Linked DNA regions of Homo sapiens: regions 1, 3 and 4 are each linked to region 2. The links are contacts of gene promoters, found by promoter capture Hi-C in blood cells and fetal thymus (Javierre and others, 2016). All regions are on one chromosome and are shown on one strand. The core of a region is centred on a gene start or on the middle of the fragment in contact, and the rest is flanking DNA. Distances in the headings are between cores, read along the strand shown.

The links. Contacts are between HindIII fragments. The CHiCAGO score rates a contact against its expected background, and 5 or more counts as called.
Region 1: a fragment that was not itself captured here is called in contact with the fragment with the promoter of IKBKE-AS1 in region 2 in 1 of 17 cell types (activated CD4 T cells); the score reaches 5.2 in activated CD4 T cells.
Region 3: a contact is called between a fragment that was not itself captured here and the fragment with the promoter of IKBKE-AS1 in region 2, in 4 of 17 cell types (activated CD4 T cells, total CD8 T cells, neutrophils and 1 more). The highest score is 7.7, in activated CD4 T cells.
Region 4: a contact is called between a fragment that was not itself captured here and the fragment with the promoter of IKBKE-AS1 in region 2, in 1 of 17 cell types (activated CD4 T cells). The highest score is 6.3, in activated CD4 T cells.

What each region holds. Positions count from the first base shown.
Region 1 is chr1:206,712,507-206,718,235 of GRCh38, forward strand. The region is part of intron 1 of MAPKAPK2 (MAPK activated protein kinase 2); the gene reads left to right. Among named protein-coding and RNA genes, the nearest start is that of MAPKAPK2, 30 kb to the left of the region's middle. The HindIII fragment of the contact is 1,256 bases long and covers 3,538-4,793 here.
Region 2 is chr1:206,496,362-206,502,200 of GRCh38, forward strand. IKBKE-AS1 (IKBKE antisense RNA 1) reads right to left here and starts at 1,367. Exons shown (of 2, transcript NR_172918.1): 1 at 1,233-1,367. It overlaps IKBKE (inhibitor of nuclear factor kappa B kinase subunit epsilon), which reads left to right. Exons shown (of 22, transcript NM_014002.4): 22 at 1-528. RefSeq lists an enhancer at 1,312-1,461. The HindIII fragment of the contact is 9,082 bases long and covers 1-5,839 here.
Region 3 is chr1:206,646,677-206,652,765 of GRCh38, forward strand. DYRK3 (dual specificity tyrosine phosphorylation regulated kinase 3) reads left to right here. Exons shown (of 3, transcript NM_003582.4): 3 at 712-6,089. The coding sequence ends at 2,289. Among named protein-coding and RNA genes, the nearest start is that of DYRK3-AS1, 14 kb to the left of the region's middle. The HindIII fragment of the contact is 1,066 bases long and covers 2,213-3,278 here.
Region 4 is chr1:206,631,115-206,637,347 of GRCh38, forward strand. It overlaps DYRK3-AS1 (DYRK3 antisense RNA 1), which reads right to left and starts at 4,554. Exons shown (of 2, transcript NR_183645.1): 1 at 4,486-4,554; 2 at 3,082-3,869. It overlaps DYRK3 (dual specificity tyrosine phosphorylation regulated kinase 3), which reads left to right and starts at 4,422. Exons shown (of 3, transcript NM_003582.4): 1 at 4,422-4,666. The coding sequence starts at 4,590. RefSeq lists an enhancer at 208-277 and silencers at 4,282-4,701, 4,752-4,861. The HindIII fragment of the contact is 1,446 bases long and covers 1,518-2,963 here.

The DNA.
Region 1 (5,729 bases), core at 2,916-5,415, 220 kb after region 2:
TTGTTAGTTTTGGCGTATATTTTCTCCTACTGTAATCTTTTAAAAATCTACTACCTAGCACAGACTGCCTCTCCCATTGTTTTCTTAGGGGGTGTCACTTGGAAGTTTGATAAGCTTACTGCCTACTATGTCTTTAGTCAGCTTGTTGGTAAAATATTAATACTAGGCAAAGCCAGTCTGGTGTGGTGGCTCATGCCTGCTGTAATCCCAGTATTTTGGGAGGCCGAGGTGGGTGAATGACTTGAGGTCAGGAGTTTGAGACCAGCCTGGCCAATGTGGTGAAACCCCATCTGTACTAAAAATATAAAAATTTGCTGAGTGTGGTGGTGGGCGCCTGTAGTCCCAGCTACTCAGGAGGCTGAGGCACGAGAATCTCTTGGACCCGGGAGGTGGAGATTTCAGTGAGCTGAGATCGTGCCACTGCATTCCAGCCTGGGCGACAGAATGAGACTCCATCACACACACACACACACACACACACACACACACACACACACACTAATAGGTTTGCCACTGAAGTTGTTCTTTGGGTTTAGTCAACAAGTAGATACTTATTGAACACCTCCTAAATGCCATGTACCGGGTCTAGGATTTGAAATCAAAAGATGAACAAGACATTGTCCCAGCTTCCAAGAGGTACATGGTCCACAGTGAAAAGAGAAACCGTTTTATAAATCCCACTGGTGAGTGCTGAAGTAGGAGTTTAGCAAGAGTCTGTGGGCACAGAGAGGCAGAGGGGCTGACTCTGCCTGGAAGTGGTCAGAGAGGCTTCACAGAGGAGGTGACATTGCCATGGTTCTTACAGACGTGAAGTCATGACAAGGCCTGGCTTGCCTGAGGTCAGGAAGTGCATTGTAGCTTCAATATAGGGGATGTGTTGGGAGGTTAGGGTAGCGATGATGTGGATAGGAGCTAGGGAAGACTAAGTTAGGGAATTTGGATTTTATCATGTCAGCCAGTGGAGATGTTTAAGGAGGAAAATGTCCTGCTCAGCTTTGCCTTTCAGCATGTGACCCAAGATGTACTGGGATGGAGTACGTCTCCCTTCTAGAAACCAGTTAGAAAACACAGAAGAGTAGGCCAGGCATGGTGGCTCATGCCTGTAATCCTAGTACTTTCGGAGGCCGAGGTGGACAGATCACTTGAGGTCAGGAGATTGAGACCAGCCTGGCCAACATGTGAAACCCCGTTTCTACCAAAAAATAAAAAGTTAGCCAGGCGTGGTGGTGTATGTCTGTAGTCCCAGCTAGTCAGGTGCTTGAGGTGGGAGAATTGCTTGAACCCAAGAGGCGGAGTTTGCAGTGAGCTGAAATCATGCCACTGCACTCCAGCCTGGGGGACAGAATGAGACCCTGTCTCAAAAAGAGAAAGCACACAAGAGAAAAGGGGCTGCAACCCAGTAAGCGATAGCAGGACTGGAAAAGGAAAGATGGATTTGGGAGATCTTCCCAGAGACAAAATTGGATTGCTTCTGTGGGTGACGGAGGGAGAGAGTCTGAGGATGAGTACTCAAGATTTATATCTGGGAGCCTGGCTAGATAGTGATGTCATTGCCGTTTACTGAGATCCGGGAGCAAATTCAAAGGGGCCGTGAGTTCAGTTTGGTGCCTGTTCAGCAGCCTGTCCTAGATCCACCAAACAGCACTTTATTACTGGCCATTTATAACAACTGCAAATATTATCTAAATGCTTTGTCATCTCACTGCCTCCTCCTTTGTCATCCCTAAGGTCTGGGCAGGAGACTGTGTTCATATACTTCATAGAGGTCCAGACCCCTTGCGTCTGGCATTCCTTTGGTCTATAATTCAGTAAACTCTGCTAAAAAGGAAACGAGACTAGCTTGCTGTGGCCTCTTAAGCGACCCAGGGTAGCTTGTGATGGTTCAGATTATGATTTGTTCTAGAGCTTTTCCAGAGGCAGATGTTGAGGAGTTTATCCTATTTGTCCCCTTCCCTTTAAACAAACAAAAGTGCCGGCTGGACGCAGTGGCTCATGCTGGTAATCCCAGCATTTTGAGAGGCTGAGGCAGGCGGATCACCTGAGGTCAGGAGTTCGAAACTAAGCCTGGCCAGCATGGTGAAACCCTGTCTCTACTTAAAAAAAAAAAAATTAGTTGGGTGTGGTGGTGGGAGCCTATAATCCCAGCCACTCGGGAGGCTGAGGTGGGAGAATTGCTTGAATCTGGGAGGTGGAGGTTGCAGTGAGCTGAGATCACACCATTGCACTCCAGCCTGGGTAGCAGAGTGAAACTCGGTCACAAAAAAAAAAAAAAAAAGAAGTCCCAACCCCCCAGTTTTTTATATCCTCTTAGTCATCATAGTTTATTAACAGTTTTGTTTACATATTGCTTCTTTTTCCCTCTTGGCTAGACTGTGAACCTTGAAGCCCTGTGAGCTTGGTCTAGTGCCTGGAGCATTGTGGGTACCAGGTTTCGAGAGAATGTGTGCTGCCAGAAAGCAGATCTTTGCCACCTCCTCTCCCCTCAGCTCCTGAACCACTGCCAGCAGTGGTTCTGGAATCAACCTGTACTTTCCTTCTGCATCCTGGGATGTAATTCTGGGTGATTGTAAGTTGGTTTATGGTCTAGCTTAGAATTGAGGCTTCTCTTGAGAGAGAGCATGTGTGTAAATGTTTAGCTTGTTCTAGTCTGTGGAGCATTCTCCTTCATAGAAAAGATGGGAAATACTGGAGATGAAAATTCTCCATTCTCTGTCATTTTGTGTGTTAGAGTCTCTGTCCCCATCCCAGGGCCACTTCCTCCCTGGTTCTTCTTATGGCTTTGGATGTAGCTTGAAGACATGCTCCTAGCATTTTCACAAGCTCTGCTTGTTGTGTTTAGTGAGCGCAGACTACTCCCTTCGGGCCTGTCCTGGCTCATGGGCAGTTGCTCGTGTCTTTGCACACATCCTTTACTGTCTCAGCTCTTCACTTCTCCCTGACATTTGTGGCTGCCTCCTCCTGGTTTCTTCTTTAAGCGATTATTGTGTTTTAGATGATCAGAATTCACTTTTTAGAGACTTGGACCTTGTCTTTCAAAATGCATTCCCTTTTGGGATCTCTGCCCATCATACTCCTTGGTCTCAACATCTAAATATTGGTTTTTTTTTTCTTTTTCTTTCTTTCTTTTTTTTTTTTTTTGAGATAGGGTCTCACTCTGTTGCCCAGGCTGAAGTGCAGTGGTACGATCATTGGCTCACTGCAGCCTTGACCTCCTGGGCTCAGTGATCTTCCTGCCTCAGCCTCCTGAGTAGCTGGGGCCACAGGCTAGTGCCACCATGCCCTGCTAATTTTTTAAATTATTCATAGAGACGGGGTCTCCCTGTGTTGCCCAGGCTGGTCTTGAACTCCTCCTTCTCCTTTTTGTATCCTCTTAGTCATCAAGCCATCCTCCTGCCTCAGCCTCCCAAAGTGCTGGGATTTCAGTGTGATCCACTGCGCCTGACCTGAATATTGGTTTTTTTGAAGTCTAGGCTAAACAACTGTTTTTGTCTCAGTTTTTTTTTTTTTAATTTCCCTCCTTTGAACTCTGAATTGACAAGCTTACTTCCTCCCAATGTGGTGTTCTTGTTATTATTGTTTTTGCTAGCTGAAGTATTTTTTTTTTTTTTAAACATAATTTACTAGGTTTTTCTTCCTGGCCAGAAGTAAGTTCAGGGTAATAGTTCCCTTCCTTGTATCTTCAGCTGTGTGAGAGGTAATGTAGAGTGAGAATTTATTTATCAGGTGCCCTGCTCGTAGCAGAAGGCATGACCTCGACTTCTCTCTCACAGTGACCTTGTGTTTGTGTTGGTGGCTTGAACTCACTCTTGTGTCTGGGCCATTTCTCTCACTGTGTAGGAAAGAGTGGTTCCTGTCTTCTCCCTGGCCATGTAGTCTGCTGTGTGTCACCATAACAATCATCTATCTTCCGGTTCTTTTTCCTTCTCTCCTCACCCAGTTGTCTCCAGTCTTAGGCGTGTGGAATTGTGTACTGGGTGGGGGATGTGTGTGTGTGGGCCGCCCTCTTGATTTGTAGGATCCTTCTCTTCCTCCACATTCTCTGTCAACTCTCCTCCACCCCCTGTGAGATCTGTGGACTCAGGTATACGTTGCTGTGAGTCTCATTCTGCTCAGCTGGGGTGATGAAGGTGAGATTGCTTTTGTCGCTTCAAAGTAAAATTTTAGATTTGCTTTGGCAGCCGCACAGGGTCGTATGCATGGGGGCTGCTTAGGCCAGAGGCGCAGTGTTCCTGACCTCCTTCCGTCTTACTTTCTCTTGCTAGTTTGTCCATCTCTGTGGATTTTTTAAAGTAGATACTAGATACCTAGATACTACTAAGAACATGATCTTTCTCTTCTTGCCACTTGGATTTTAGCTTAAAGCCAACTTGGAACATTTAGGGTGTTTCCTTCCTACCACTGTCTGCCTGGTCTCCTAGGGAAAGATGCCTTGTATCTTGTTCTGGTGTACAGTCTGCCCATTTAATTGGTAAGTGTTTATTGTGACTCTTCTCTACTGGGCTCTGGCCCCAGGCCTGATGCGAATAGGGCAGGCCTGTGAACAGAGCAAAGACGAGTCACTTAGGAGGGGACGAGAGAGGCCAGCGGTAAACTAATATTACCAGCTCAGGGTTTATTTGTCAAAGCCTCCTTTGCTGTGAATAAAAGGTTAGATCTGAATTGGGTCTGAGTCCTGGCTTTATTACCTACTAGCCATGTGGCCTTGGGCAAATTATTAATACTTCCTTGGGCCTTGGTTGCCGCACCTGTACGATGGAGTCAGCAATGGATCCTGTTCTGTAGGGCTGCTAGGAAGCTTAAATATAGCAATATTTGCTATATATAAAGTGCACCTGGTACATAATTGATGCGGTTGAAATGAAAATTCCTCTTTCTCTTTCAGTGCCATTTGCTGGAAGAAACAGAAGAAATATCTCTGTCCCCATCTTTCAGTTTCCTACCCAAGACTCCTGTGTGGTTGACATCACTGCTGTGTGCAGTGTTCATGTCCATATAAGTCAGAAGTGGCTTGCAGCAGTGGTTTGGGGCTTTGGGGCCTCTGCTCGCTCCTTATCAATTCTTAGGGTTACATCCTCTGGGAAGATGCCAGGCCTGGTCAAGTGTGGCCTCTGACCTAGAGTTATGCAAGGCCTCTCTTCCTCCTGTGGCCAGTGTGAAATTTCTCATCTGTGCTCTCCTGCCTCTAGCAGGAAGGTTGGCCTACATTTGGGGCACATCTCTGTCACTGTCTCAGGCCAGGGGTTCAAATATAAGACCTGAATCATACTGCACCTCAGAACCCAAACCCTTTTACTTAATTTTTTTTAAAAAATTTCATTCAGATGGTAAAGGTTCAAACAATACATAGAGATATAAAACAGAAAGAAAAAAAAATACACGCCTCTCTCTAGTACCTATTCCCCAGTAGTCAACACTGCTACCTTTTTTTTGCAGGGGAGGTAAATTCCTCCAGAAAAAAACTTAAACATCTACAATTTCATATATCCTCTCCCCTCTTCCCTAAAAAACAAAACAATAACAACAAAACTATAGAAATGGGATTATGCTATATATTCTGTTCAGTACTTTTTTGTTTTTGAAAATTTAAAAAATATGCAAAAGAAGAAAATGTCATCCATATTACTACCACTTATAATTAACCACTAATTAACTTTTAGGTGTGTTTGCTTCTTGTCTTTATGAATATACTTTAAAAGCTACTTAAGTAAGGTGGAAGCAGTTCTGTTTAA
Region 2 (5,839 bases), core at 117-2,616:
CCCACAGGAAAGAGTGTGGCAGCAACTGCCTGGCTGACCTTTCTATCTTCTCTAGGCTCAGGTACTGCTCCTCCATGCCCATGGCTGGGCCGTGGGGAGAAGAAGCTCTCATACGCCTTCCCACTCCCTCTGGTTTATAGGACTTCACTCCCTAGCCAACAGGAGAGGAGGCCTCCTGGGGTTTCCCCAGGGCAGTAGGTCAAACGACCTCATCACAGTCTTCCTTCCTCTTCAAGCGTTTCATGTTGAACACAGCTCTCTCCGCTCCCTTGTGATTTCTGAGGGTCACCACTGCCAGCCTCAGGCAACATAGAGAGCCTCCTGTTCTTTCTATGCTTGGTCTGACTGAGCCTAAAGTTGAGAAAATGGGTGGCCAAGGCCAGTGCCAGTGTCTTGGGGCCCCTTTGGCTCTCCCTCACTCTCTGAGGCTCCAGCTGGTCCTGGGACATGCAGCCAGGACTGTGAGTCTGGGCAGGTCCAAGGCCTGCACCTTCAAGAAGTGGAATAAATGTGGCCTTTGCTTCTGTTTCTGGTGGCTCTCCCTGGGCTGTGTCTGCAAGGCAGGGCTCTCAGCTGGGTGTGCTTGGCAACCAAGTGGGGTCTGGGCGGGGATCTGTGAGAAGTGCTGGGAAATGGGGGTGGGAATTGGTCATGTCCTGATTTCTGCCTTTCCCCTAAATGGGCCCTAATTTCAAGGAAGAACCCAAGGGGTGCCTTCCCATTCCTTCCATTCTCTTGCCCCCGCATCATTTGGAAAGCTGTGTGAGGGGCCTGGAACTTAGGGAGAAAGGTATTCTTCTTTTTTTTTTTCCTTCAAACCCACCATCTAAGTGGCTACTGCTTTTTTCCCATCTCCACAGCTATTCAAAACCTAGGCTATGTCCTAAATAGTGGGTTTGAATAGTATTATGGGTTATTTTAAGCATTCCTTCATTTTGTCTAGAATCTAGAGTGGTGCCTGGGCAAGGCATTCTGACTTTTGCAAACTGCTTGCAAATTTACCTCCAGCCTTCCCATAAACCAGAGCTGGACTACCCACCTACCTGGGTGGGTGAAGGAAGGGGAAGGGGAAATGCAGTAAGGTAGCCCCAGTAGGAGAGAGAGACGAGTGGGAAGCCCCACTGTGTGCTTCGAAGCGTGAAGACAGCATTATGCTTGACTGGAAATAACCCCAGAGATCCTTCCTGTCCATCTTCATGGGAGCCCCCACATCCTGAGGCCACTCTACTCACCTGGTAGGGCCAGAAATGGGGAAGGGTGAGTCCTGGAGGCTTCTGTCCTCTGTGGTGCTTCTCTGTGCAAAGACCAGCACTCTAAAGGCCTGGGGGAAGGTGGCTGGAGGTTGTTTCCTTGCATCAGGTCCAAGTGGCTTTGTGTTTGTTATTTGGGCCTCAAGCCCGTGGAGTCACTTAAGCCCAGGGGTTCAAGTCCTGGGGCCTCAGAGACCAGCTGCCGCCTTGATGTTCCTGGGTACTAGACCACCTCTCGTCCACTCTGCTGGCCTGAATTTCTGGCCAACACTTCCAGCCCATGAGTGGCCCTTCAGGGAAGTCCCACAATGGGTTTTCCCTGGCAGCAACAGCTTGCAAAACCCCATGTGCTTGGTGGAGCTCAGTGAAGGAGCCAGGGGATCCCTGAATGCCAAATACAGATTTTTGGGAGATGATATGATCCAGGCTGTATGATCTCATGAGCAAAGCCTATGAGATGTGGCGGACAAACTCACTCAAAGGCTTCAGTTCAGTTGTTTTTTTTTTTTAATTTTCCTTCTTTTTTTTTTTTTGGCAGGGTTTTGCTCTGTTGCCCAGGTTGCAGTGGAATGGTATAATCTTGGCTCACTACAGCCTCGACTCACTGTAGTGATCAAGCGATCACCACTACTACTCACTGTAGGACCAAGCAATCCTCCTGCCTCAGCCTTCCAAGTAGCTGGGACTACAGGCGTGCACCACCACACCCAGCTAATTTTATATTTTTTGTAGAGATGAGGTCTCACTATGTTGCACAAGCTGGTCTTGAACTCCTGAGCTCAAGCAACCCTCCTTTCTTGGCCTCCCAAAGTGTTAGGATTACAGGCGTGAGCCACCACGCCCAGTGGCTTCAGTTCATTTCTATGCAAGGCAGAGCTGCTGACATCAGTGCCTCCCTGGATCTGAGGTTCTGCAGAGCTGCTGATTCCATCTCAGTAGGAAATGAGGAACTGGACCAAGACCCAGAACAACCCATAAGATCCTCAGGTGTCTGAAGACCTCTTTAATGTACCTCTCCATTCTCTGCAGTGATTCCTAACATAACACTTAAAATGAAAAGAGCCCATTCAGTTCACCAGACATGATCTGAGCCCTTACAGTGTACCAGGCCCACGGGATGCTGGAACTACAGAGGTGACTAAGCCACCTTTCTGGCTCATGGGGAGCTCACCTCTATGGGGGAAGACAGGTATGCCACAGATAGCTTCCCATCATGGAGGAGGTGCTATGCTAGGAATGCAAACATCCAGTGTGGTCCTGAGTCACCATCCTCACAGGGGAGGGTGCTTAGGTCAGGCTGGGAAACTTCCTAAGTGTCAGGGAGTGACTGAGAACAGGTGAATCCAAAGTGGTCTTAGCAGGTGAGCAGGTGATACCTAGCAAAGAAGGTGTGGGAGGCATTCCTGGCCGTGGGAGCAGCAGTGGCACAGGCATGGGAAGAGCTACTAGTATTTCTATATGACTGGAGAGTAGGTTAAAGTAGGATGCTGGTATTGTGGAAAGGGAGGAGCCAGTCCAAAAGGTCCTTGCAGGCCACACTGAGGAACTTGGACTTTACCCCAGAGGACCACAGAGAGGTTTTAGGTCAAGTCCAACTGGTATTTTAAAGATACTACTCCTCGGTGCCCGTGTGGTGAGTGGAAAGTTGTGGGTAGGAATAGATTAGCTATGTGCATAAAGTGCCTAAAACTCAATATTATTATTATTATTGTTATTATGTGAGACGCAGTTTTGCTCTTGTTGCCCAGGCTGGAGTGCAATGGCACTATCTCGGCTCACCGCAACCTCTGCCTCCCGGATTCAAGCGATTCTCCTGCCTCAGCCTCCTGAGTATCTGGGATTACAGGCGTGTGCCACCACGCCCGGCTGATTTTGTATTTTTAGTAGAGGCGGGGTTTCTCCATGTTGGTCAGGCTGGTCTTGAACTCCTGAGCTCAGGTGATCCACCCACCTCGGCCTCCCAAAGGGCTGGGATTACAGGCATGAGCCACCGCACTGGCCCCAAACACAGTATTATTAACACAATAGTTCTCTGCATACTCCGCTCACCTTCCCCATCCCCTCCCCACCTCATTCAGCTATGAGCCCCTGCACAGGGTAGGTAGAGGAAACAAGTTCTTGTCTCGTATGGGCTGAGTCGGGGGCTCAGATCAGTCACAGATATCTGGGAAGATTCCATGTGGCATTCAGATTCATGGCTAGCAGCCTCTTAAAACAGGCTGATCCAAGCTAAAAGGGGGCCTAACTGGAAGGATGAGGGGGCCTGTCCCAGGAACCCAGGCAAGAAGTACAGTCAGTTCTGGAGGGCAGGGCGCTACAGGGCTATATCTCTCTTTCTCTCCCAGAATCCACACAGTTTCCTCTCTTGAGACTGGTGTCCTGGTTTCAAAACACATATTCTGGGATCCCACTCAGCTCCTGAATCCAATCCGTAAGGGTGTGGCTCAGGAATCTGTATTATTGATGAGCTTCCCTGGTGATTCTCACACCAGCTCAGGTTTGAGAACACTGAGGCAGAGTTTACAAAGATCCTGCAGAGGGCATGTGAATGGCCCAACAGAGGCCAATTGGCAGTGCGTGGTACACTGGACCAGGCACCCCACTCCACACCCACCCTGAGAGCTGAGGCCAGGGCAGCCAGTCTAAGGACAGGATGGATCTCAACCATGGCCAGGCCACCCTCCTACTGGAACCACCGTTTGCTTTCATGGAGCCACCTTGCTTCAGTATCCTCACAGGATTGCTGCAACTGGTCATTTTGGGTTCACTTCCAAACTGCTTCAAAGATTTTTATTTATGTTTATATATTTATTTTTTTTTAAGACAGAGTCTCGCTCTGTTGCCCAGCTGGAGTGCAGTGGTGCGATCTTGGCTCACTGCAACCTCTGACTCCCTGGTTCAAGTCATTCTCCTGCCTCAGCCTCCCAAGTAGCTGGTACTACAGGCATGCACCACCACGCCCAGCTAATTTTTGTATTTTTAGTAGAGACAGGGTTTCACCACGTTGGCCAGCATGGTCTCGATCTCCCGATCTCCTGATCCGCCCACCTCAGCCTCCGAAAGTGCTGGGATTACAGGCATAAGCCACCGTGCCCGGCCTATATTTTTATTTATTTATTTATTTATTTATTTATTTATTTATTATTTATTTATTTGAGACAGAGTGTCACTCTGTCCCCCAGGCTGGAGTTCCGTGGCGTGATCTCGGCTGACTGCAACCACCTCCCAGGTTCAAGCCATTCTCCTGCCTCAGCCTCCCGAGTAGCTGGGTCTACAGGTGCCCACTACTATGCCTGGCTAATTTTTGTATTTTTAGTAGAGATGGGGTTTTCACCATGTTTGGCCAGGCTGGTCTCAAACTTCTGACCTCAGGTGATCTCTCTGCCTCGGCCTCCCAAAGCGCTGGGATTATAGGCGTGAGTCACCGCGCCCAGCCATGCTTGGATGATTTTTTCAAGGGTGGAATTCTGGCTTCTTTTCCCCGATCTCACAAAGGATCCTTAATCAGGCAACCCCAATGGGAAGTGTTAAGGAATAGCCAGGCTGACCTGAAGTAGCTTCAGTTTCTGTTCCTTGGAAGCTCAGAATGACTGCGGCTGGAGCAGTGTGGCTCCCTTCCCTTCATTCTTCAGCGGAGACAGAGGAGGAGGGGTGAGATAAGAGGTGGGAGTGAGAAAGGAGAGAGGGAGGGGGAGATGAAGAGGGATGGAGAGGGAGATAGTGGATGAGCAGGGCACAGGGAGAGGAAGCAGAAAGGAGAGGCAAGACAGGGAGACACAGAGCACAGAGGAGGAGACAGGTGGGGGCTGGGGTGGGGCAGGGAGAGCCTGTGAGGTCACCCAGGCCACCCTGCTCTCGCTGGTCTGTTGTAACCCAGTCCATGGCTTCCTGCCACTGCAGTGGGCCCAGGGCTGGCTTAGTGCTGGAATGCAAGTGGCTGTGGCTTGGAGCCTCCCCTCTGGCTGAGGGAAAAAAATTGCTGACAAATCTGCTTGGAATATCTGAGTTTTTCCAACGCGGAAAGAAAACACACACACACACACACACACACACACACACACACACACACGCCAGTCTTATCATAAGCCTGGCAGAGCAGCTCAGGATGGAAAAATTTCATAATTGAGATGGATGGAGGAGGTGCCACTAAAACTGGTGGAAAACAAGCCCCACCTGCCCCCACTCTACGTGATGACACCTTTCCAGGAGCCCTCAGATCCCTCCCTGCTTTTGTCCCCCCTTGATCTGCCCTTCTTGTCCCCAAGTACTGTCAAGGACCTAGGAGATCCCCTTGGGAGCACTGGAGTTTGGTGACATACAGAAAGCCCATTCCACCAAGAGTCGAGATGGTGCCCCACCAGCCCTCAACCCTGGCCAGCTACAAACATCTGGAGGCAGGAAATTCACCCAGTGACCAGAATCTTGGAGGAGGTACATGAGTCTTAAATGGAGCTCCCAATACTACTCCAACTTCTACCCAGCCCCAGCAGGTCCTCGGGGACCCTCCATGCTCCCCAAACCAAACGATTCCTCCATCTCTCCATCTCTGGGTGCAGGAGGCGTGGCTTGAAGAGACGTTAAGAAAAAAA
Region 3 (6,089 bases), core at 1,496-3,995, 150 kb after region 2:
CATAGTCAACATTCAGCCCTGCTAGTCTACAGGTGCTGGGAGAACCTGGTGCTGAGTTATGTTAATGGCAAGGGCCCTTGAATAGGAGCCAGAAGACCTATTCTGGTTCAAATTCTGCTTCTGTCACTTGATAGTACCTTCTTGTTTACACTTCAGTATGCATTATTTTCATCATGCTATATGTCCTTAATATTTGGGAAGATACTTGAAACAATTAGTAAACAGTGTAAGGTAGTGCATATATTATACATAATCAAGTACCAAATTATGTGGCACAAACTGGAGAAGCTGCAGTTAGGATATAAGATTAATTAGTATGGGCTTGGCATAGTTCTAAGTGGAAGAGAGAGGAATTAAACTGGGCTTTGAAGGAATGTAGGAGTCGAGGGGATGAGGGGGTGGAAGGATTCTCAGTACAAGGACACATCTGTAAGAAGGAACCTGGCATGTGGGGGGCATGGTAAGATCATCTTGTCTTGAACAAAGCAAGGCATGTATGGGGGTTAGGGATGGCCGCAATATTCAGGGAGTCTGAAAATTAATATAACACAAGTTGCTAGAGACTCTTGCTTTTCTTATCTTCTTTTTGGGTCATTTTAACCTTAAAGTAAACATGACTGGACATGTTTTGTTGTTATTCAGTTGGAGGAGGGAGGATTCTTCCATCTTTCTAATGTTTTTAATGACTTATATTCATTTTCTCTTTCATAGATGACCACTGAGCAGTTTACAGGAGATCATACTCAGCACTTTTTGGATGGAGGTGAGATGAAGGTAGAACAGCTGTTTCAAGAATTTGGCAACAGAAAATCCAATACTATTCAGTCAGATGGCATCAGTGACTCTGAAAAATGCTCTCCTACTGTTTCTCAGGGTAAAAGTTCAGATTGCTTGAATACAGTAAAATCCAACAGTTCATCCAAGGCACCCAAAGTGGTGCCTCTGACTCCAGAACAAGCCCTGAAGCAATATAAACACCACCTCACTGCCTATGAGAAACTGGAAATAATTAATTATCCAGAAATTTACTTTGTAGGTCCAAATGCCAAGAAAAGACATGGAGTTATTGGTGGTCCCAATAATGGAGGGTATGATGATGCAGATGGGGCCTATATTCATGTACCTCGAGACCATCTAGCTTATCGATATGAGGTGCTGAAAATTATTGGCAAGGGGAGTTTTGGGCAGGTGGCCAGGGTCTATGATCACAAACTTCGACAGTACGTGGCCCTAAAAATGGTGCGCAATGAGAAGCGCTTTCATCGTCAAGCAGCTGAGGAGATCCGGATTTTGGAGCATCTTAAGAAACAGGATAAAACTGGTAGTATGAACGTTATCCACATGCTGGAAAGTTTCACATTCCGGAACCATGTTTGCATGGCCTTTGAATTGCTGAGCATAGACCTTTATGAGCTGATTAAAAAAAATAAGTTTCAGGGTTTTAGCGTCCAGTTGGTACGCAAGTTTGCCCAGTCCATCTTGCAATCTTTGGATGCCCTCCACAAAAATAAGATTATTCACTGCGATCTGAAGCCAGAAAACATTCTCCTGAAACACCACGGGCGCAGTTCAACCAAGGTCATTGACTTTGGGTCCAGCTGTTTCGAGTACCAGAAGCTCTACACATATATCCAGTCTCGGTTCTACAGAGCTCCAGAAATCATCTTAGGAAGCCGCTACAGCACACCAATTGACATATGGAGTTTTGGCTGCATCCTTGCAGAACTTTTAACAGGACAGCCTCTCTTCCCTGGAGAGGATGAAGGAGACCAGTTGGCCTGCATGATGGAGCTTCTAGGGATGCCACCACCAAAACTTCTGGAGCAATCCAAACGTGCCAAGTACTTTATTAATTCCAAGGGCATACCCCGCTACTGCTCTGTGACTACCCAGGCAGATGGGAGGGTTGTGCTTGTGGGGGGTCGCTCACGTAGGGGTAAAAAGCGGGGTCCCCCAGGCAGCAAAGACTGGGGGACAGCACTGAAAGGGTGTGATGACTACTTGTTTATAGAGTTCTTGAAAAGGTGTCTTCACTGGGACCCCTCTGCCCGCTTGACCCCAGCTCAAGCATTAAGACACCCTTGGATTAGCAAGTCTGTCCCCAGACCTCTCACCACCATAGACAAGGTGTCAGGGAAACGGGTAGTTAATCCTGCAAGTGCTTTCCAGGGATTGGGTTCTAAGCTGCCTCCAGTTGTTGGAATAGCCAATAAGCTTAAAGCTAACTTAATGTCAGAAACCAATGGTAGTATACCCCTATGCAGTGTATTGCCAAAACTGATTAGCTAGTGGACAGAGATATGCCCAGAGATGCATATGTGTATATTTTTATGATCTTACAAACCTGCAAATGGAAAAAATGCAAGCCCATTGGTGGATGTTTTTGTTAGAGTAGACTTTTTTTAAACAAGACAAAACATTTTTATATGATTATAAAAGAATTCTTCAAGGGCTAATTACCTAACCAGCTTGTATTGGCCATCTGGAATATGCATTAAATGACTTTTTATAGGTCAATGCATCTTTGTTATTATCGTCAGATGTATTTCAACTGATGTATTATACTATTGGTTTAAATCTCTTTCTCTCAAGATAGAAGGTGTAGCAAAAGTATCCCAACTACTCCTCGCTTCTAGTGTCCCTCGGCATCTGTTCTGGAGGGGTAATTTGGGATGTGGTGTTAGTTGTGGCTGAGAGCCAGTGCTAGGTCCCTTGCCCCACTAGGCCATTCTCTAGGCTCATTCTAGGTGAAAGAGCTCACAGCAGACTGTGGGGTGGGGGAGCACCAGGAAGCTGTTGGTGACCTGGACAACTGGTGTCCCTGGTTTTCAGTGACTCGCTCCTCTTCCCTTCAGTTCTCTGATGTTTGGTGTTATTATTTTATGTTGTTATTTTGCCTCTGATTTGTTTCCTAGTCACTCAAAGCATTTTACAGAAGCCTTACCACTTTACTAAATAACCCTGTAAGGTACTGATTTAAAAACTGAGTCATATGCATCCCTCCTCCTTTCCTCTCCCATGCCCAAGGAAGATAAAACAGCTTCTCTGCCACAATTGACCCAGAGTGGTAAAGATAGAGAATCAGCATGAAAACTGCAGTTCCCCAGCTTTGTGGTACTCCACGGACCAGCCTCCTTGCTGCATTTTCATAGAATCTCTTCCTTATAAAAGTAATCACTCTCGGATAAACCTTACTACAGTTTAAAAATGCTTCCCTCTTCTCTTTACAGCTACCTGCCACTTCAATGTGCCACATTTTTCCCCCCACTTTCACGTTAAGCTTAATGCTATTCCCTAGATCTGAGTGAACTTCAGTTAGAAGAAGAAAACTAAAAATCCAGAAACTGGTGATAATCAAGTTTTCCCTTTTTATGTTTCTTAATTTTATTCTCTTCAACAGCTTTTCTTTTTCTCTGCTAAGATTTAAACAGTGAGGGCTGATAATAAAACTAATTGTTAAGCCAGTGTCCTACTTACAAGGGTGGAGACGGGACAGAAGCTAACTCACTGCTACTGGGTTTTGTTTGTTGTTTCCTGTCCCTTGCTCTATTTCTGTCCTCTTCCAGAACAAAAGTATGCTCAAGTTCTATCCTAAATGTGTGCTCTTGGCTGGGTATTAGTGGCTCATGCCTGTAATCCCAGCACTTTGGGAGGCTGAGGTGGGTGGATTCCTTGAGCCCAGGAGTTCAAGACCAGCCTGGGCAACATGGTGAAACCCTGCCTCTACAAAAAATACAAAAATTAGCCAGGCCTAGTGGCACATGCCTGTAATCCCAGCTACTTGGGAGGCTGAGGTGGGAGGATCACTTGAGCTGAGATCATGCCACTGCACTCCAGCCTAGGCAACAGAGTGAGACTCTGTCTAAAAAACAAACCAAAAAAAGTGTGTTCTTTAAAGTAGAATATTTGCTTTTTACAATATAGTTCTCAGAATGATCCAGTTCCATTTATTATTCTAGAATGTGGTGCAAACTCAATGACATTGGAAGAGACTCTTTTTGTTGGGCAGTGTAGGAACAAGAAAAGAAAATAAAAATGCCATGAGTATATTATTTAAGGAACTTTTGTTTTATCCAAAAGTAGTCATGATTGCTGTAGCATAGGCTGTGAAAAATGAGAGAGTGCAAATCTCTCTCATTTAAATGTCCACAGTGGCTTTAGTCTCCCAAGTACAAGGGCCAGATGGCAGAGAACAGCTTAAACTGAGCCTTCAGCCTCATTAATAGGAGGAAGTCTTGGTACTTTTGGTGACTAAGAAACTGGATTATTTAAAACCTTAATTATCTCCTTTACTCCTGGTTTACAGAAGGCAATAAATATACAACTCCTTTAGATCCCTCTAACTCCTGCTGAATTTTCTTTCTTTTTTTCTAAGTCTGCATCCTATCTCTTGATTCCATTGCCTGAAGAAGCTGTGTGAAATTAGTCTGGTTATTGGTTTTCTTGTCTGATAGTGGCATCTTGATCTCTTCAGATGTCACACTAAATGCTGCTCATAACCCATCCTCCTCTTCTTTATTCATCACTGCCTTCTTCAAGGGAGGTCTTGAAACTGCCTCATCTACCTCATGATCTGCTAGTCGAGATAGTGACTCTTTGGAAGTTGGTAGTCCAATGTCTGCTTCCCCGCATTAACCACATTGCGTAGGTTTGGGAATTTTGCAGGTGCTAAATCATCATGGCCAGGAAGATGAAACACCTTGAGAAATGGGAACATCTCTTCACTGTGTTCTTGGATCAGCCTTCTTTCAACTACCAAGAAATGGATGATTTCTCTGCCAACTCCAGGAAGTAGTACAGCATGATTGAATCCTTCTTCAGTGAATCTTTTCATTGTAACTTAGGGTGTAAAAGCTCATATCTACTCAAAAAACTCAAATCTACTCTTTCAGTAGATATGAGCTTACATTGACTTATGAATGGTTTTCCTGTAGGCCCAACAGTGTCATGACCCTCCAGTTGAAACAAAGCATGAGTTATTTTTATATCGAGTCCTTGAACTGCTAGCCAGGTAGATGTTTCCTTGAAGTCCAGAGCAGGATCCAAGTCAGATGAAGGAGGTGGCACACCTGGCTTAACTGCAGATCAGGGAGCATTGAACCTCTACAATTTGCTGCATTGGATTTCTGCATGGGTTTCTCACTGAATAGTAAATTAGAGAAAATGCTACTTTTACTATTTTGCATTTTATATCAACATTAGCAGCCTGTTCCCACTCAGGTGCTGTCCAAGGCACATGTTTCCTTGGGATGTTTGGACAGAATGATCTGGCTTGATGTATTTCTTGGGCTCTGGTACCACATCATAGAGTTGGTTAAATGTAGCCAGCAGCAGTGTCAAGACAGCTGACACTGTCTTCCAAGAGTGAATGCATTGGCCTTTGGAACTGCTGCTAAAGCCATGTGTGGGGTGGCGAGCACATCTTTAGGTGGCAGCAAGGCTATATCTGATTGACACAGATCTGAAGTCTCTAACACCATATTGCTGTTGTCCTGAATTTTCTAACTTGGAGAAATTTAAGGATCTCCTGCATTATCTAGGCAGAGCATATGTTGAGGTTGTTTTGCCAGTTGTTATCAGTGTTGAAGAACTGCTCCTGTAAGCAAACTGTTAAAAGCATTACTACCCCATATGCATCTGATGTACACTGTGTTTTGGTGTTTGTGTTTTTAGTGAGAGTTCTAGCCAGTACTGTGCCTGAACTTGGGAGAGAAAGGGGCCTGTGGCTGAGGTTGGTGCGTGCTCTATTTCTGTGTATCGAATGGACTACAAGGTTACTGAAACTGGGCTAAGGGAAAGTGTATAGACAACTCATTACACTGTAGACAGATTTTAGAAAGCTACAGGAAGGCAAATGGATGTTTCTGCCTCAATTTGGCAACCGAGAGAGTGATGCAGAGCAGAGTCATTGAAGTTGGCATACCTGTCTTCTGCAGGCCAATTCAAGTTTGAGGAGAGTGGGCTGCTTAAAAACATGGTGCTCGTCCACATGGATTTGAGGAAGTTTATGGTTGGGTTTCAAGCTTAGGGACAAGTTGTGGTTTTTAGAGGCAGTAACTCTATGCCACCTTATTGGCCACTGTTAAAAG
Region 4 (6,233 bases), core at 991-3,490, 140 kb after region 2:
CAGCCAAGAGGTTCTTCTGCTAGCTTTACGTGGAACTCTCATATGGCTGCTGTCAGCTGGCAACTCAGCCAGGTGGCTTCCCTCACTTGTCTGGCAATTGGTATTAGCTGAGGACTACAGAAATCCAGCTCAGACTTGTCCACATGGTGGCAGCATCTAAGAGCAAGAGAGAAGAAGCTGTAAGGGGGGTCTCCTGAGGCCTAAGCGCCTAAATTCCTCACGTGTTATTGGTCAAATCAAGTCACGTGGCCAGTCAGCTTCAAGAACCAGGAAAATTGTTTCCTCTACTCCCTGGGAACAGCTGCAAAGGATGTGCTATGTTTAATCTATTACAGTACCCAAGGTTCCTAAGCTTTAATGCAACAAATTACAAATTTAGTGGCTTGAAACAAGGAAAATTTATTATCTTACAGTTCTGGAAGTCAGAACTCCTAAAATTGAGGTGTAAGCAGAGATTCGTTCCTTCTGGAAGCTCTAGAAGAAAATTTGTTTCCCTGCCTTTTCCAGCTTCTAGAGGCCACCTTCATTCCTTAACTCACGGCCCCCTCCTCCATCTTCAAGACCAACAACAGCATCTTCAAATCTCTTTCCCTCTCTGACCTCTGTTCCATGGTCACATTTCCCTCTCTGACCCTCCTGCTTTCCCCTTCCATCCTTTTTTTTTAGATGGAGTCTCACTCTGTCACCCAGGCTGGAGTGCAGTGGCGTGATCTCTGCTCACTGCAACCTCAGCCTCCTGGGTTCAAGTGATTCTCCTGCCTCAGCCTCCCGAGTAGTTGGGACTACAGGCACACACCACCATGCCCAGCTAATTTTTGTGTTTTTAGTAGAGACGGGGTTTCACCATGTTGGCCAGGGTGGTCTCGAACTCCTGACCTCAGGTGATCCGCCCACTTCGGCCTCCCAAAGTGCTGGGATTACAGGCATGAGTTACTGCACCTGGCCTCCCCTTCCATCTTAAAAGGACTCCTGTGATTACAGTGGGCCCACTCAGATAATCTAGGAAAATCACCCCATCTCAAGATCCTTAACTTCATCACATTTGCTAAGTCCCTTTTTGTCAAGTAAAGTGACATATTTACAGATTCTTGGAATTAGGATGCGGACATCTTTGGGGAACTATCATTCTGCTTACCATCTTCAGAATCTTAAATCAAGAGAAACTATGTCACAGAATTCAAGGGTCCAGTGGTCTAGCCTGGGCTAGCCTGCCAGGCTCAGGGAATACAGGTGGAATACAGGCAGTCGAGGGGCTGAGTTTTTCAACCAAACAGACCAGGGTTTGAATTTCAGTTCATCACTTACTGGCTGGGTGACCTTGGGCAAGTTATTAAACTCTGAGACTGTTTTCTGAAGTGTAGGATGGAGATAATACCTATCTCACGGGACTACTGTGAGTTTTAAATGAGCAAATATGTTAAAGTGCTTCAGATAGTGCTTGGAACATAATAAATACTTAGCAAATGGTAATGATGATTAGAAAGACTCCTGGTTTGGTTTCAAGATTTCAGAAATGAAGCTTCATAGGACCCCTCAGGGCTATAGGTGGAACTGGTCACGCTGACTTAGGAGGAACAAGTGGAAAAAGATGGCAAAAGTTTTGGAAAAGAAAAATAGGTGAAGAGTTTGTGATAATAAGGACAACCTTTAGGGTTTAGGAGACACAGAACTAAGTGTGTCTTAGTTGTAGCTGTACTACAGCACTGCGGGCATGGCTTTTGTTTGCTTTGTTAATAAGGGGCATTTTTCAAATCTTGGTGGAGAGGGGAGGGCATAAGAACAGGAGATGCCTGAGGTATAGAAGAGAGACAGTTTTCTGAGGCTCCAGAAAAATAAGCCATGGCTTTAGTGTTCCAGTGAGCTAGATTTCAGTGTTTCTGAAAAAAATAGCAAGTATACATTTCAGGAACACGGGTCAATTTGAGGTTAACATAGCTTGAGGAAAAAAGTAAGTTTCACTGGTTCTCTCCAGTGATTTTTAAAAAATATTTTCCAATTCTGTGATGCACATGTCACAGTAGGCATTATGGCACATTTTGCTGTACAGAAATGTCAATGAAACTTGTCCAAACTTAACATAACCTACTAACAGCTATTTTATCACAAAATTCCAGGTAAATGTGGCCACGGGGATGTTTTCTTAATCTGTGCATTTGAAACTTTGATCACATTGTGAATGTCCCAGTGGGTTTTTAAGATCCTGGAATAGTTGCATCTTTTTTACTGTTGTTTATTTCCTTAGTCAATGTATTAGAACTTGCAGGTACCTTATTTTGCAGATGTCTTGGAATTGGCTTCAAAGGACAGACATGCATCTTATATGACTTTTGGCTAATTCATGGTGGGTAAATCTGACTTTAACTGCATGGAGAATGATAATGGTGATTTTAAACTACTCTTGAATGAGGCTTTGGAGGGGAAGAAAGGGCATGAATGATGTGGAAGCTGCTTGGGAGCTGGAGGGGACAGGGCAGCGCTCAGCAGGGGTGTGGAGGCTCCTGCCAGATCCCTTATGGGACGTTAACCCCATCATACAGGGGATCTTTGAAGAAACATTGGGTCACTAAGGTCAGAGATTTATGAAGCTCCAGCACCCTCGAGGAGTCCTCTTTCCCTTGACCATGGGAACAATAGGCGAAAGACAAAGGCGGCCTCTGTATTTCCCACCTTAGGAGCAAGAAAGGGAGCAGGAACCCTTCCACTTGGCTCTGGAAGATGTGTCTTAAGCACAGACTGCGGATGCAATCCTCTCACGAGCAGTGATTCAGAATGAGGTAAGAAATCATGTGGGGGCAAGTCTCATTCAACTGTTTAGGGAGGGCAGTAAAGTGGTCTGAGGTGTCTACATAAGTACTGAGAACGGGGATTATTTAATAGAATTTTGCAATCTTAGAGCTGGAAGGGACTTCAACAGTAACCTCGTCCAATCTTTGCGTTGCCATGGAACTCTTTCTTCAAACAAAAGCTTCGTAAGAGCCCAAATACAAACCCCTGTGAAAGCAGAATTGCTCTGGTTGCAAAGTGGGGGAAGGGAGAGACAAAAAGAAAAAGTTTATTTATAAAATAAACTTTAAAAAATCATCATGGAAGAAAACTTTTTTATTTATATGTATATCATAGAAAGGCTAAAGTAACATTGATCACAAAAAATAAAATTCCCCAAACCAATAGATTATTAGTTTATACAGTGAAGATACTTTGGCTCTTTAGGGACATTTTTACTTGGAGTCACGAGAACAGAGAATATGACTTTTAGTCACACGGAAATGAGCCTTGGATGGGAATTTTTAAGATTTATGGGAACTGTGTGCTATGCTGATTTGGGACAATAAGCGTTCTAGTCCCACCAGGTGGCGCCCGCGTTCGGCATTCTGAGAACGTTTGGTGTCTTCTGGACTCCAGAATCTGGACGGTCCGACCGCCTCGTGCTTGGTGGGTTTACAAACTCTGACTGGTTCTTACCACCCATCTAACAGGAAATTTTTTTTTTTTAAAAACAAACCAACCCATAAAACATCTGACCAGATGCCACACTCAAGAAAACACTTGTATTCGGGTGTTTTAACCTCCAACGATGGAAATCTGCTTAACATTGGTGTTTCTGAGGTGTCTTAGCATCAGAAAAGGAAAAAGACACATATACACACATTCTAAGGAAAAAGTCAGGAAGGGCCTTGCAGAGGTAGGTCCTGGTGCGGCAAGAGGACGGTTAGGCGTTAGAAGCTTCTAGTTCAGGCTTTGCCGCTTCATGCTCATGAGGAAGCGCGGCTCCTTTGGCCTCAGTTTCCTGCGCTGCCTTCCCGTCTGTGGCTGACTGTTGCAGGGTAGTCAGACAAAGGCCCAGCTTCTATTCTGCATCCCAGCTAAGTCTGTAAAAGACGAAAGTCGTCGGGTACCTCCGTTACTGAGATCAAATGTTCATAAATGGAAGCATCGTGTCAATAAATGGGTTTATTATTATTGCTTTCTTATGTAACTCACCAACCCCCGGAGGGCCGTCCCCGCGGTGGGAAAGCCTAAAACAATACACATATGTTTTCACTAATTTAAAATTCATATTGAAGCGGGACGTTTTAGAACTTCCAGGACGCAACGTGCTATTAAGGGACCGTGAGGGGCGGGCAGCCCTTCTGAGATCGCGGGCTAACTGCTACTTTCACCCCTCCTTCTCCGGACCCCTCTCTCCGTCTACAGCTCGCGCCAGGGACCCAAACAGCCTAGGCCGCGAGCTCCTCGCCTCCAACCTCCCGCCTCCCGCGCCAGTACTAGCACCCGCTAGGAGCGCCGCGTGGCCTTTACCGGCCACGGGCCCCGCCCCTGTGCGTCAGCCCGTAGCTGCGCCGAGGCGTTTCCCGGGGGCGTGCCGCGGTTGCTAGGCGACCAGACCGCTCCCCCTCCCGCCCCTGGAGCTGCGTCTCCCCACTTCCCAGCCGGGGCCAGTCGGGAGCGAAAGTGCGCTGAGCTGCAGTGTCTGGTCGAGAGTACCCGTGGGAGCGTCGCGCCGCGGAGGCAGCCGTCCCGGCGTAGGTGGCGTGGCCGACCGGACCCCCAACTGGCGCCTCTCCCCGCGCGGGGTCCCGAGCTAGGAGATGGGAGGCACAGCTCGTGGGCCTGGGCGGAAGGATGCGGGGCCGCCTGGGGCCGGGCTCCCGCCCCAGCAGCGGAGGTAACGGCGCCACGGGGTAACGGGCTGGAGGCGCCACAGGGAGCGGCTGGCGCTGGCAAGCGAAGCTTGGGGGTGGGGAGGAGGTAGAGTGAGCCCTCAGTAGGAGGGACGAGGGCAGGGGTCTGACTGCCTCCCCGGGACCGCCCCCACCTCCTCTCTATCAGGGCCCCCTCCCCCCATCCCTGTCTCACCGGGCGCGGGGGACGGGGCTAGAGCGGAGTTAGAGCAAGAAGAATTTCCACCCCTGGATTCCCTCTGAAACCCTAGATCGGGGTATATGTTAAGGGATTACGAAAATCTAGGACTTTTTGTGGGGCTTTTTATTAAAGGGGGGGAGCCCGGGAGCAATACCTTGGAAAGAAGCCCTGTTGCTTAGAGCGGATAACCAACGGCTGAACTCTTGGGGTTTGCTGTGAGGGGTGCGGTCTAGCTTCGAATGTACAGGTTATGGGCTATGCTGGGTACGGCTTTCTCCGGATCCTATTTTGAGAGATTCCCCACCTTGCGTTGTATTTTACACCTAAATGGAGAGAAGAGACCCTTGCTCCCCGCTTTATTTGCATGCAGACTCTTGTTAATTTCCTCTGGCTGTTAGTCACTAGGCAATTTTGCACGTTTTCTTTTTCTTTATATATGTGGACGCCTATCCTGGTTTGTTTTATCAGGCTTATGGCAAAGGGTCAGTCACATCCAGAATATTTGGTTTCTGTTGGTGAAGCCATTCCCTGTTAAAAATATAAATAATTCTATCAGAATGTGAGCATGTTTTTAAAAAGAGCATTCCAAAAATATTTGTAGCGGTTTTTTTCCCTTTATATTTTTATAACACATCTATAAAGAAAACTCTAGAATGAATTTCACAAAACAGTTTTTAAGGTGACCAGAATATTCCAGGATATTTTAAAAGACGTTAAAAAATTATTCCTCTGCAACATCATCATTGTTATATTCATAGTGTATCATGTAAAATGATACAATGAAATGCTGATGTGTGTAACTGGGAAATCCGTGTTCTTGGTAGCAGATGAAATACATTATTCAGGGCCATCTTGTGGATTAAATAAATCCTCTCCGTCTTTTGTGTTCCCTTACAGTGGTGGAGCCACAGTGTTAAAGAACAGAGAAGTGATCCTTAATCATTTAGAATTTTGCCTCCACCATCCACCAGAAAATGAAGTGGAAAGAGAAGTAAATTCAATACATTTTATAATTTAGAGCATCCTTTTAGCGTTTGCTGTAGTACTTACTGTATTTTTCTGCAGGTTAGGTAGATGTAAGTAGGTAAGTAAGTAAATGAATAAAGAGAAGACAGCCTTAAAAAGGCCTTTTATTTCTTGCCTGTAAGACCCAGAAGTGTGAAGACTGGAGCTAGTCTTCCCATTAACATGGGGAAGACAGGCTCAGAGGAGAAGGTAGCACTGGGGAAGACAGGCTCAGAGGAGAAGGTAGCACAGCCAGTGTTAGAGCTGAGATTAGAATCCAAGTCTCTGACTTGAGAAACTATTACCTCTGTTAGTTTTTTCTGGTCTGTTTTTTTCTCTGTGAGCTTCAGTTTCAAACTAGCCTT